Regions from separate parts of the Homo sapiens genome. Here region 2 is linked to region 1. The links are contacts of gene promoters, found by promoter capture Hi-C in blood cells and fetal thymus (Javierre and others, 2016). All regions are on one chromosome and are shown on one strand. The core of a region is centred on a gene start or on the middle of the fragment in contact, and the rest is flanking DNA. Distances in the headings are between cores, read along the strand shown.

Region 1 (7,263 bases), core at 1-2,500:
AGGCAGGGATTAAACAAACAAAAACAGCAACAACAACAACGACAACAATAAAGAATGAAGATTATTCAACCAGAAACGACAATGAGGGTGGGGAGAAGATAGAGGATGAAGACAGCGCAGGGTTGGGAGTAGAAAGACCACATTCTTGTGCTGGATGTTCAAGGATCACCGTGAGGAGAGTGAGGGCGGCTTTGCCCTTTTGATGTTGAGTTAAACTGTAATACAGATTTTCCATGTAAGTACTCCGTCATTTTCAGGTGGCAACCGGATAAACTTCAGGTGCCACCATGGAGCCGACAATCACCAGCAGCGAACAGGACGGGAAGAAGGCTGGGACAGAAGGGTAGTTGCATCTCCGCAAACGCACAGGTCTAGGAAAGAGGCACCTGGGCTGTCCCCGGGCTATCTCGTTTCAAAGTCACTTAAGTTTCTGTAGCTTAGAAGCGGCCCTTGCCCTCTGGTATCGGGAGACGACTTTGCTGCAGACATCGAGGTGCTCGGAATGACCTTGGTGATCAACCTTAACCTGAAATTCCCGGTCCTGCATTGCCCATCTCCCGGGTCACTGCTGCTGACAAGGCTCTTCTACAGTCCTGGGTTATTCTACAGTCTTTCAAGAGGGCTTCCCCTAAATCCTCTCCCTAGGAATGCTTGGAAGGACGGGAGGAGCAGCCTGGAGGCTCCCATCGTTTATTCGGACACAGTAACAGCCCGTGCCATGGCTGCGCTACCGCGGGAGCTAGGCTCCGCAGCAGAGGGCCCCGGGCTCGCTTCGGGGTGGGGGCGCCCGGGGTGTGCCGCGCCCTCGGGGCTCACGTCCCGGGCGGGTTTCCGGGCCTCGGCAGGGCGCGAGGCGGCGGCGGGGCCGGCTGGCAGGCTGATGATGATGATGCTCTGTGCTCGTAGCCGATGGGAGGCAGCGTGAGCCCGAGAGAGCCCAGAGCAGCCGCGGTGGCAGCGCTGGAGCGCAGCCTCCTCCCGCTCCCATAATGCACAGGGCGGCGGCGGTGGCGGCGGCGGCAGCGGAGGCAGCATCGCGGGCCGCCGAAGTGGCTGCGGCGGCGGCGGCGACCCCTAGGACCCCGGGCAGGTGGAGCGCTCGCGGCTGCTCGCGGCGAGCCCGGGAGTGATGGCGAGGCCCCTGCGGGCGGCCAGCGCCTGAGGCGCCCCGCCCCGCCCCGCCCCGCGCGGCCCTCCCCGCCCGGCCCTGCCCTGCCCTGCTCCCTGCCGGCGGCTGCGGGCGCTTCCTAGTCCGCTCGGGCGGCCGCCCAGGCGAGGTGCGGCCTCCGCACAGGCGGGGGGCGTAGGCGCGCGGGGCCCGCCATGGCTGCGTCGGAGCTCTACACAAAGGTAAGGCACCCCGCGGCCGGCGTCGAGGACTGGGGCTGTGCGGCCCTCGCCGCCAGCTGTCAGGCTGGGGAGGGGGCGGGAGCGCCGGGCCCAGGCGAGCCCCACCAGCGCCATCCCCTTCAGCGCCTCAGAACCCTCGGCCCTACCAGCCGGTCGCCCGCTGCGGCACCTTCCTCTTTCGGGCGAGATGGTGAAGGCGGCGGAAGGTGGCCCGCCTCGGGGGTCTCCCAGGCCCCTGCCGCGCTGCTCGAGCTGGGGGCAGAGCGGGCTTCGGAGTGGAAAGGGGGCCCATGTGGATTTAGCAGGGCGGGCGTGCCTCCCCTCCTGCTTGGCTTTGGAAAATTCCCGGCGGGTGGGAGATGCTTGCTCCAGTAGATCGGATGGGTTCTCTCGTGGGGACACGCGCTTAAAATAACGTCTTGTGTTGGTATGCAGTGCCGCTTCTACCGCCAGCTAGCCTTTCTGTGAGGTTATTTTGAATCCTGCAAACGGTGGCCGTATCACCTTTAGCTCCCCAGTTTAGCTGCGCTGGGGGTGGCGAGCCCCGGGGAAAGATGCTGCCGGATGAACGCGAGCTGATTCACCGGCTGGGAGGGTCGGTACTCATTTATCGCTGGGAGTTTGCAACCTGCGTGTAATCCCGCAGAGCCTTGTTAGGCTCCATGTCTTTACCATCCTCTGGGGCAAGCCTTTCCCTTCTGGGTTTGGTTTAAGGGAAGTGGCAGTCTTTTCTTAGACTGACATCAATATACTCAGGGTCTGGCGATCTCTGAATGACATATTATGGAGAACTGTCACTTGAGTGCTGCGCAGATTTGTGATGACCTTTGTGAATATATGTAATCATGGCATTTTATACTGTACACTCATGTGTAGGTAGATATTTTGCCAGATATTGATTACTTCTACATGCAGTTAATAGAGTTGCCTTTTCACATTAGCTTTTGCAACAGAACTTTCATTTAGGGTCCTGTAATCACTGGAATCATTGTTTCCAAATGTCACTGAAGTCCAGGGCCCAAGTTGCAGTGTGTTTTGTAGAGGAAAGAAGACTGGGCATCAAGAGACCTGGATTCAAGCCGGGACTTACTAACTGTGACCTTGGACAAGTCACTTAACATCTCTGGTTCGATTTCCTAATGAGTAAATGCAGTTAATTATACTTGCCTTGCATCCCTTACAAGCTGTTGTGAGAATCAAACTTAATAATCGTTGTGAAAGCTTTTTGTAACCTATGAATTTCTCTGCAAATATGAGATATATGATTAATTTCTTCAACCATGAAATGAGCTTGCATGAAACATTGTCTGAGACCTCTTTCTTTCTAGTTTTAGATTTAACGACTGTACAGTTGGAACTTCTCTCTCAACCTGGTAATTTCTTTAGGCATTGTAGATCTCTAACATATGAACGAATGCAATTGGAAACTGATTAAAAGTAACTTAAACACTTAATATGGTGCTTGCTATGTGCCAGGTACTGTTTTAAGCGTTTTAAAAATATGAACTCATAATCCTCATAAGGAACTTATGAGGTCGATATTAAGAAATATCAAAATCATTTTCACATGAAGAGATAATCAGTCTGTAAACATTCCTTGGTTACTTTGTGTAGCCCATCCCCTCCACTTCTACATCAAGTTTGTCCAACCCGCAGCCCATGGGCCGCATGTGGGCCCAGGACGGCTTTGAATGTGCCCCAACACAAATTCATAAACTTTCTTAAAACATGGGTTGTTGTGTTTTTTTTGCAATTTTTTTTTTAGCTCATCATTTATCATTAGTGTATTTTATGTGTGGCCAAAGAAAATTCTTCTTCCAGTGTGGCCCAGGGAAGCCAAAAGATTGGACACCCTCCGTTCTATATGGTGAGCAGTCATCTTTGAGTCACCTAATAGTAGGCTGCTTAACTAGAGACTGAGTGGATAATAAATTGTTGTTGGATTTCGAATGCTTTTTTCCCCCAGGATAATTTGGGAGAAAAAATTGAAAAGATGTTGTGATTTGTAAATGGTAAAGTTTTGGGCTTCTGTCACAGCTTTATCACAATCTATTTTAAAATTTACCTTTTAACAGCCTGAGGAACATAATGAGACCTGGTCTCTACAAAAAAATTAAAAAGTTAGGCTGGGCACGGTAGCTCACGCCTGTAATCCCAACACGTTGCCGAGGTGGGTGAATCACCTGAGGTCAGGAGTTCGAGACCATCTTGACCAACATGGCAAAACCCCGTCTCTACTAAAAATAGAAAATTAGCTGGGCGTGGTGGCGCATGCCTGTAATCCCAGCTACTCAGGAGGCTGAGGCAGGAGAATCACTTGAACCTGGAAGGCGGAGGTTGCAGTGAACCAAGATCGCGAGCCTGGGCAACAAGAGCGAAACTCTGTCTCAAAAAATAAATAAATAAATAAATAAAAATTAGCTGGGCGAGTTAGTCACGCCTGCGGTCCCAGCTACTCGAGAGCTGAGGCAGGATGATCAGCTGAGGCAGGAAGATTGCTTGAGCCTGGGAGGTTGAGGCTGCAGTGAGCCATGACTGTGCCACTGCACTCCATCCTGGGCAAAACAGCAAGACCGTGTGTTGAAAAAAAATTTTTTTTAACCTCTTTGTCATTATAAAGACAGACTGGCTTAGAGATCAAGACTGAAGTTGGGGCTTACACTGCCTTCTTCTAAATATACTTATGCCTAATTAATAGTCTGGTTACTTGGTTATTTGTTGGCAAATTCTTTTTGTGAATGGGCCTTAGCTTAATGGCAAGCAGAAATACTTATCAGGCATCCTGTGTGCCAGGTACTTTGCTTAATGTTTAGAGGATTTAACAATGAACAAGATACAGTCCTTTCCCTCAACACGCTCATAGTCTGCTTCTTACATTCTTGACCCACTTTGAATCTATAGGGGCATAAATAACCTGCTGTTACCTCAACAGCAGGCAGACAGCTGGTATGATATTTATTAGTAGAAGTTAGGGAATGGGTTGGGACATGGGGAAGGTTGGGCTGATTCCAGAGATAAAAACTACTATTGTAATTACTAGAGGAATAGGAAAATCATTAGAAGTATTATCAGTGGATAAGCACAAGGATCTTCCCCTTGCAGAGGATTATAGGAAGGAAGTTCTAGGATAGATTACAAGGAAAGATGTATTAGTGATATGCCATAATTATGGTATTTAACATTGTGGTTAAATCTGAAAAGTGCTCTTTAAAAAAATGTCATTCAGATCTTAAGGGCAGATTTTAATGTGTGATACAGATCAGTTCCTATTACAGTGAAGGACAAGAGACTGTTCAATTTCTTCTTTTTAGCCAGAATGGTAATGGTTTTGTCACAGCAATTTAACAAGGCTTCCATTTTGTAAGTTTTTCCAGCAGTATAAACATTTTAAGGACAATAGCTAGGTTCTTGGGATACTTGTCTGGAAACGAATATTTTGGTTAAAACATGTTTTGTTGATTTTTAAAAATAACAGCTTTATTGAGATATGTGTCTTATACCATATAATTCACCATTTAAAGTGTACTATTCAATGGTTTTTGGTTTATTCACAGAGTAGTATGTTGATGTGTTTGTGGTCAACCTGCCTTGCTCCCAAAAGAATTAAAGGAAACTATGATATCTCATTGCTTCTGATTTTGAAAATATTTGCTAGTCTTGACTTGCCAGTGGATATCTATATCATACATCATCCATAGGTGCTTTTGGTAACTAGAAGCAATTCTACATTTGTGGAGTAGGGTTTATCAATTAGACCTAGAAGGATTATCGGGAACATTATAATGAATGGCATGCTATTCCTCCTGTCATCATGTTCCCAGACACCATGGATAGCACCATGGTATCCATGCTATAGGATGGTCAAGATTACTTGAAGCTGGGTTTTTTTTTTTTTAATTTTTTATTTTTTTTGAGACAGGGTCTCACTGTGTCACCCAGGCTGGAGTGCAGTGAAATGAACATGGCTCACTGTAGCCTTTAACTCCTGGGCTCAAGCTGTCCTCCCACCTCAGCCTCGTGAGTAGCTGGGACCACAGCTATGCACCCAGCTAATTTTTAAATTTCTTCTAGAGATAGTCTCAGTATGTTGCCCAGGCTGGTCTTAAACTCCTGGACTCAAGTGATCCTCCTGCTTCCACCTCCCATAGTGTGGGATTACAGGCATGAGCCACCACACCCAGCCTATTTTATTTATTTATTTATTTATTTATTTATTTATTTATTTAGGTTCAGGGTCTCACTCTGTTGTCCAGGCTGAGGTGTAGTGGTGTGAACATGGCTCATTGCAGTATCGACCTCCCAGGTGCAAGCCATCCTCCCACCTCACCTTCCTGGGTAGCTGAATCTACAGGCATGTGCTACCAAACCCAGCTAATTTTTGTACTTTTTACAGAGACAGGATCTTGCTGTGTTGCCCAGGCTGATCTCTAACTCCTCAGGTCAAATGATTCTCCTGCCTCGGCCACTCAAAGTGTTGAGATTACAGACATGAGCCACCATGCCTGGCTTATTTTTAATTTTAAAAAAGTTTTAATTTTTTTGTTTACTTTTGTGTTTTGTTTTGTTTTTACCTGAAGCTGTTTGATTAGGAGGTTCCCATGTGTGCTGAGATGCTGAGTATTGTAACAGTGCAAAGACAATCTAAAATTCCACATTTGCAAAGCATGTTAACTTGCCTAGATGAAACAGCTCTTAAGGTCAGTAGATTGTATATGTGTAACTTTCCATTCCCAACATATCCTCTCATATATACAGGAGCCACATGGCCTAGATTTTTTCTGGGATAGATCCACTTTTATATTCTATGGCACTGTCTCTTCAAACTACTGATCTTGGAAATTCTAATATTTTCATGTCGAGACTGTATTTCTCAGACTGCTTCCAACATCTTAAAGAGGAACAGAAATCTCATCTCTGATCATGTGCCCTGACTTGGAGTTTGGCAAGGATGTTAGCTGTCCTCAAGTCTCCTGTCATGCCCTTTCCATTTGAATTTCCTCCTGGTGTTCCTAGGCCTGTTAACGACTTGCTGTTCTCCTAGTTCCGCAGCTTGGAAACCTCCGTATCTTTTTTCTTGTCTTTCACATTCGACTTCTTCTATATCAATTCTAATTTCAGTTGACATCCAGCTGATAGCTCAGATTTGGAACTCCCACTAGTACTCTTTTTCTCTGTCTTAATGTCCCAAACATGTTTCTGTCTTATTACGGTTACTGTATTTGTGTATATGTTTACCACTCCCACGATACTCTAAGCCCCCTGACATGCTGTTTTGTTTACCTCCTGTAGAGCCTAGCCCAGTGTTACACAGAATAGCTGCTCATTGAATATTTGTTGAATGAATACTTAAGCAGGGGAGGGATGGAATGAAAATAATGGTTTGGCATGATCAGTCCACTTGTAGGGACGAAGCAGGGTATAAAGATGTGGTTAAACAAGTAAACACATTTTCAGGCATGTTGAACAGGATGAGTAATAGAACTGGGAACCAGGGAGACCAGGAAACTTTCAGGAAACAAAATGTGAAGTGGTGAAGGTCTGGTGGACTGAGGCAGGGGCAGAAGGTGTGGGAAAGAAGAGGATAAATCCGAGAGACAGGTCTCTCCGAGATGGATTACATATAGGATGGGAAGGAGCAGGAGTAGTATGAAATAATGCCAGTAGCTCCAGACTTGGAAACTGAAAATTAATTCCTGTTTCATCACAAATTTTGACTGCCTCTGTGGAACTTGAATGCTACTAAGAAATACTTCTTTACATAGCTTGACAAAGCAAAATGCCCATTATTTCCTCTTGAAATTTGTTACTGTTTCTTGAAGTGTGAAAGTTTTGTGTATTGTCCAGAAAAGATTACAGAGAGATTCTGATTCTAATGAGAATTGCTGCTGCCACATATTTTAGATCTTCCTGGTA
Region 2 (6,892 bases), core at 3,693-6,192, 170 kb after region 1:
AAAGAAATGACAGTGAGTTTGCCAAGGGAAAATTTTTTGGTAGGCTCAGAGCAGCTTCTGCAAACTGGTGAGAATAAAAGGCAACTTGTAGAATGTTTTAGAGAGAAGAAATTCTTTCATTCATTCATTTACAAATTATTAAAGCCCTACTCTAGGGAAGCACTGTGGTGGGCACCAGGAAAGCAGCTGTGACAAGACACTTGTAGCCCTTGCCTCATCGTGCTCACAGAGAAAGCAGTGGTGAAGCAATAGAAGCAGGCAGGGCAGATTAAGATTTAGCCTCAAAATATATGGGTAACATGGAGCAAAGTGGTAGAAGCTTAATATTATAAATGTGACTGGTTGGCTGATTGAGTTAAGACATACAGCTGAGATTTGAGGTTTTGTTACTTTACTTCATCTGCAGTCAAGGGCTAATCTCCAATCTCCAGATCATGTCCTAGCCAAAAGCAAACCACAGCCACAAAGAGGGCTGAGGGTGTAGGTAAATGGAGAAGGCAAGGTTTCCTCAGCAGCGCGTGGGGATGACCAACAAGCACACAACACAGCTGGCCAGGCCCGAGCATTTTATCTGGTTAGAAGCTGGGAAGTAATAGGACAGCAGGGGAGGTTAAAGTCGTAGAAAACGTAAGACAGAACTGTGAGATGGTAAATTAAGAGAGACTCTGTAGAGTAGGACAACCGGGTCCACTGAAAAGTTGCCATTCTCTTGAGAAATATCTCTCTTGAGAAATATCTGTGAGGAGGTCATTTTGAGAGAGTACACTACTTTGGGCAAAATAATTTTATGAATAGAATACCATTGGAATAAAAATATGTACACTTTAGTTACTAGACAGTGACTGACTAGTGGAAGTTTTTCAAGGATGTGCTGTAACCAGTGTATCAATTAGTGGTACTAAGGCCAGAGTACATGGAATAACTCAGTAGATGATTGTTATTATTAATAAATTATTTCATTTTTTGGTCATTTTTTCTTTTCCTAAATTTTACTAAGACACTCTTCATGGATCACAGTGATACTAAAAGTAAAATTGCCTACAGAGAAACTGGAAATCAGTATACATGTTTACACAATTGCATTCTCAAGGGGCCATCTTTAGTATGCATATCCTTTTTTTAATTTCAGAAACTATGGAGAAGAAGTTAGTAGAAGAAACGAAACAACTGGAACTCGACCTTAATGATGAAAGGCTGAGATATCAGAACCTTCTGAATGAGTTCAGTCGCCTGGAAGAAAGATATGATGACCTCAAGGAAGAGATGACCCTTATGGTGGTGAGTCAAACACTTTTGTTTTTTTTTTAATGAAAAATTTTAAACATATACAAAAGTAAATAGAATAGTAGAATGAACCTCCATATCTTCTGTGTACCTACCACCCAGTTCCAGAATGTTCAACACATATTCACCTCCCATTCCATCTCCCCAACCCACTCCATCCAATGGATTGGATTATTTTAAAGCAAATCTTAGAAATCATATAATTTTATTCACAAGTACTTCGGTAAAGTCAAACAGTTTAAAGACTGGGCTATGTGATAGTATAAAGTCAGTAAAGTTGGATTTTTGTTTTTGTTTTTGTTTTTTTTTTTGAGATGGAGTCTCCCTGTGTCACCAGGCTGGAGTGTAGTGGCACAATCTCGGCTCACTGCAACCTCCGCCTCCCAGGTTCAAGTGATTCTCCTGCCTCAGCCTCCCGAGTAGCTGGGACTACAGGTGCCCACCACCATGCCCAGCTAATTTTTTGTATTTTTAGTAGAAATGGGGTTTCACCATGTTGGCCAGGATGGTCTCGATCTCTTGACCTCATGATCTACCCACCTTGGCCTCCCAAAGTGCTGGGATTACAGGCATGAGCCATTGCGCCCGGCCAGTTGGACTTTGTTTTATATATTGAATGGCCTAATGTAAAATTTACATGTAGACTGGTTTTGATTATAATTTTGAAGATATATTCCTATGAAAAGAAAATTCAGACTCCATTTGTAATGAATTATCTATTTCAAGGACTCTTCTGCATTTGCCAATGTACCTTTCATACTTGTAATAATTCTGCACATCCTCCCCATTCCATGTATCCTGCTATCAGGAAACAAAGAGTTCCCAAGCATCCCTACAAGTACCAGCCTTAAAGGTAACCTAATTATACAAATGACCAGAAATGCCCTGAAATATCTCATAAAAAGCCAGATAATTCAGTATCTGTGGAGCAGAGTATTTTCTTCAAATTTTGCTTCTATCTGGACCTACTGACAAAGTTCATTACAATATGACACTTAAAAGTCAAAATAAAAGAGATTGTGTAATACAAAAGATAGGCTCTCATCACCTTGCAGATGAGAAAATCCTGTCTAAAAGAGACCAAAAAGCTAATATAAATCCCACATTGGACCATTATTTCAACCCTCACTACTCTGATTTATGTGTGACAAAGAGAAATTAGAAGTAGATGCAAGTCACCATTATAACTGTTCTTATAATTGACAAATCTAAAGACCCTTGTTAAGCTTCATCTTCCTAGATCACCGTGCTACCGTTGGTCCCATTGAAACCTTTCTTCCTTCACATTCTGTAATTCTTAGCTTTCTCTTGAATCCTTTTCTTCTTTTTCAGTGTTCATGTTCCCCAGTTCCATTCTTTGGTGTGTTTTTGTTCACTCTATTTATTAGATGACAATGCCAACATTTATGGTTAATCTCTGTTTCAGTTATGGTTAGAGCTAAGCTTTATAACCCAGTAGGTGTTTCTGAGACCCCCTAGTTATTTGGGATGTTAATAAGTGGGATTGGAAAAGAAATTCTTAGGTAAAATAAATGTGGTAATCTACTAGGTTAAACAGAGATAAACAAATGTCTTTTCTGGAGAATTTCTTGGATTCTTTAATGGTGCATGCAATATGAATTTCAGAAAATAAAATGAGAGAAGCAGGTGCCATACATGTATCCCTCTCTGAGCATATTCCAGAGATATCCATCTGTGAGGAGGTCATGGGTCTCTTTAGTCGAGGAGGTGGCCATTTCTAGAAAGGTCCTCCAGTGACGCCTCCTCCAGCAGCTTGACACGGCTCCTCCTTCCTGCTAAGCAAGTCTGCCTGCTCTCCATCTGTTCCCAGCAGTGCTCTAGAGGTAGTTTTAGTTGCTCAATTTCTTATTTCTCAGTCATGTGTCCTCTCCATTGTATGCCTGTGACTCAGTCATTCCTCTTGGGAGACAAAATGGTCAGAGGAAGGGAAAAGGAGAAAGCAGAGGAAGGGAGATCAGAGCTCACTTGCTTCCCACTCATTTCTTCACTAGATCTCCTTTTCCTAGCTCCAGATATAATCAAGATGACAGTTTTTGCAGAAAATATTTGCCCAGAATTGCAGAGAATAAAAAACTTGATCTTTTAACCCATGACAATTAAAATATTAGTGACAATATCTTATTTTAATGTTTAGGTACAACTAAACAGCTAACAGATGAGTACTTGACTAATATTAGACTGACGCTGTTCTGTAAATGACACTCTCACTGCTTCAATCCAGAGCTAATGAAGCATTTGGTTGTAAACAGAGTCGTCATATGAATGGAGGAAACTCTAGGGAGGGGACTTGATACACTGCCTCCAGCGCTTCCCATAACCTATGTGATACATGGGCCAAAGAACACTAATAGTGTCACTCATTGCCAGCCTCTAGAGTTGTTGGCCCTAGTACAAGAAGTACTGTAGCATTTTTCTCCAAGAACATTCGGTTGTCCAGGGAATATAGGGGCAGAGGCAAAGAGGAAGGACCAATCCAGGGCTAAGGAGTTTCAAGCCAATGATGAAAAGATCATGAGGCATGGGCATCCAGGTTTATGAAGTGTTTAAAGATAAATTAATTCCAGAGAGGGGAGGGAAACCAGCATGTCAATCATGGGGTCGTTAGTCTTGACAAAGGGATAAAACATGTTCTGGAAAAGAAGGAATCATGGGAGAAATCAGGAGCAGAAGAGGAGGGAGGTGCAGATCTTGAAGGAGAACGTGATGATCCAGTCAAATATATATCCTTGTAATTGAAAAACGTATAAACGGGGGAACAAAATCCTAAAAACAGAGAACTGAAAAGTTACCAACAAGGAAGTTGCTGAATCACTGCAATCTCCTAACAATCACAGCAGCAGAAGTTAACATTCATTGAATGCTTGTTATGCCAAGCCAAACTCTTTACTTCCACACTCTTATTTAATCCTCACACAGACCCTATGAGATAGAAATTAGTACCCTTTTTTTCCTGATGATGAAAATACCAGCTAGTGGAAGAGCTGGTATTCCTGCCTAACTCTCTCTCGTTTCAGATCCAGAGCACTTAATCACTGCCCTGTATCCAAAAGTTACATTAAATAGCAAAAAGCAATGTTGCTTCTATTAATGCCTTAAGGTATTCCTTGTATAATGATAGACATATGTGGGAAGACAGGGATCTCTCTCATTTTTAATAAGCTTATTAAAAATCTTTGTCCTGGTGTTTATCTGGACTACCTGGTTTTCTTAGTGATACAACCAGTTTATTAAATAAATGCCATTCCTACAACTGTGGGCTTGGGCTGGAAACTTTAAGCAAGAGTGCCTGTGTCTGTAAACAGACAGTGAATTTGAGTGCCTTTGACTTCATGTGTGATGATTGTCCCCTTTAGTGTGCACCCCAGCTTCTGGATCGTTTCAGAGGTGCTGGTGTTCTTGGATCTTCCCTTCACATTGCAGTACAGGTTGGGTTGGCCTGGGAGACTTTTACGTGCCTCTGGATGAGTCTGCTCTCCATAAGCCTGGGTGTTGGAAGGGAAGAGACAAAGAAGCTCTTTGTGGCTTCTAGCTCTTTTCCAGCAGCTGGGGAAAGGTACAAAGAAAACTGGACAGATGAGAAAGCTCTCAGAGGCCTTTGTGAAGCCCTCAGGACTGTAACACTGCAAGATTAAGCCACTGGATCTTTTCCACCTCTCCTGCTGGGGACATGCTAAGAGCCCAGCCTTTTAATTCCTTCTTCCCTCAAGTTATTCTCTAACCCCTTCTCCTACAGGAGGGAAGGGTGTGTCGTTGCTAAACTTTTCTATTCCTCTTGAACTTTCTCAACACTAATTTCCTAGGTATTACATGTCATAAAAATGCCACCTGGATGCCCTGAGGTAATAACCGAGGGCTCTTCAGAGGATTACTAGAGCAGCTTTCTTACCTCCCGTGTACTGTCCATCCTGCCCACTGCTCACTCCAAAGATTTAACTTCACGTATTAAAGTGACAGAAGTTAGAGCTGCCTGTGTGAACTCCTTCATCTTTCTTTTAAACCATTTATGCCTAGTTACCATGCAGTAAAATGATTGTGCATGCCATTTCAATATATTTTATGAGGTTTTTGTAAGTTTTATTTGATTATGGCACTAAAAGTCAGTGCTTGGAAGCTTCACCCAGTGCTTCACTGAGCACTGCTTCACCCAGTGTGACTGACCGCTCAAAGCTTTCAACACCCAAAGGGGACTCGACTAATAATCAGAAGTGGTTTTCATTTGGGCATTTGGTTTTGCAACTGTTCTTGTCCTGTCATGCCAGTGTACCTTTTTCTTTGAAGCGGTGACCTTTTTGTAATTATTTGGTCAAAACAATATGGAACAAATCACTTGGGCACCAATACAAGTCAGGAAGTAGGGATAAGAACCAAGTCAAGGTGGATGCTGTCTTAACTATGCCTAGACTAATTATGTTGCATTAATTATACCTGGGTTATTTGCCTTGCAGCATGTGCCTAAGCCTGGACACAAGAGAACAGACTCCACCCACAGCAGCAACGAGTCTGAATATATCTTTAGCTCTGAAATTGCAGAAATGGAAGACATTCCATCAAGGACAGAGGTACAGTTTAGACATCTGTCACTGAAAGTAGGATATGAGCATGCTGTTGTTAACAAGGAACATTTCCATTGCAAAGCAGACTCCAATTGGCCATAAACATAGTATTTGTTTGAATCATTTATTCTTCATAAGTGACTTGTAGATACAAACTTATTTACATTTTTGTATACTTAAGTGCTGTGTACATACATACCTATTGCATTTTTTTGTCAATACAAATTTTAATTTTAATTTTTAATGCAATTTTGATGGTGAGATTTTATTTTTATAATTCTCTTTACCCCTAACATGATATGTTTACAGGAATTTATTTCAGACTGAGGTAAATTATTTTATTTTTACTTATTATTTATTTACTTTATATCTGTGGACCACCGCTGTAGACAGAGGTAAATTATTTTTAAAGTAAGCCCTTTGTCCTTGAATATTATAAACACCAGTGCCCCAGAGTTTAGCAAAACTGATGCCTCTATTTTATGCCAGTTTTTACCAATGTAACTTTCTTCTACAAAATGCATGGAAAATAGTTTAGAAATCTGCTTTAATGTTTTGTGTTTTGTGGTATGAAACCAAAATGATGTATTACTGTAACTCCAAGAGTATAGTGACTTTTAGTTAGATTATTCCCAACCAATTCTAAGATCTTTTAAAATATGATATAGTTTCAATAATGGGTAATTCAGGCACAACTGTCCTATTTTTATATTATATTTTTTGAAAATGGCCAAATCAGAAATAGACTGCTTCTGGTAGAATAGCTAGAGAAATTGAGTGATTCTTTCCTTTCTTGTCTTAGTTCTACTTAAGAATGAAGTTTCTGCCATCTCATTCTGTTAATTTTGAAGAAAAATGTTACATAGTTGGAATGTCATATCATTGGAATCATACATACAAGAAGGCTAAGTAATTTGTCCAGGTTCACAGCTTATAAATGGTAGATCCAGCATACTAACTGAGGCTTGTCTCTTTAGAATTCATGTTCTTAAGCCATTATATTCTACTGACTTCCATCCAGGGATTCTGTACTG

Evidence for each region. Contacts are between HindIII fragments. The CHiCAGO score rates a contact against its expected background, and 5 or more counts as called.
Region 2: a fragment that was not itself captured here is called in contact with the fragment with the promoter of MYO5A in region 1 in 1 of 17 cell types (total CD8 T cells); the score reaches 5.2 in total CD8 T cells.

The regions. Positions count from the first base shown.
Region 1 is chr15:52,522,867-52,530,129 of GRCh38, reverse strand. MYO5A (myosin VA) reads left to right here and starts at 1,250. Exons shown (of 42, transcript NM_001382347.1): 1 at 1,250-1,350. The coding sequence starts at 1,324. RefSeq lists a silencer at 721-1,600. The HindIII fragment of the contact is 12,943 bases long and covers 1-2,573 here.
Region 2 is chr15:52,358,940-52,365,831 of GRCh38, reverse strand. It overlaps MYO5A (myosin VA), which reads left to right. Exons shown (of 42, transcript NM_001382347.1): 24 at 1,130-1,278; 25 at 5,751-5,864. Among named protein-coding and RNA genes, the nearest start is that of MYO5C, 67 kb to the right of the region's middle. The HindIII fragment of the contact is 952 bases long and covers 4,467-5,418 here.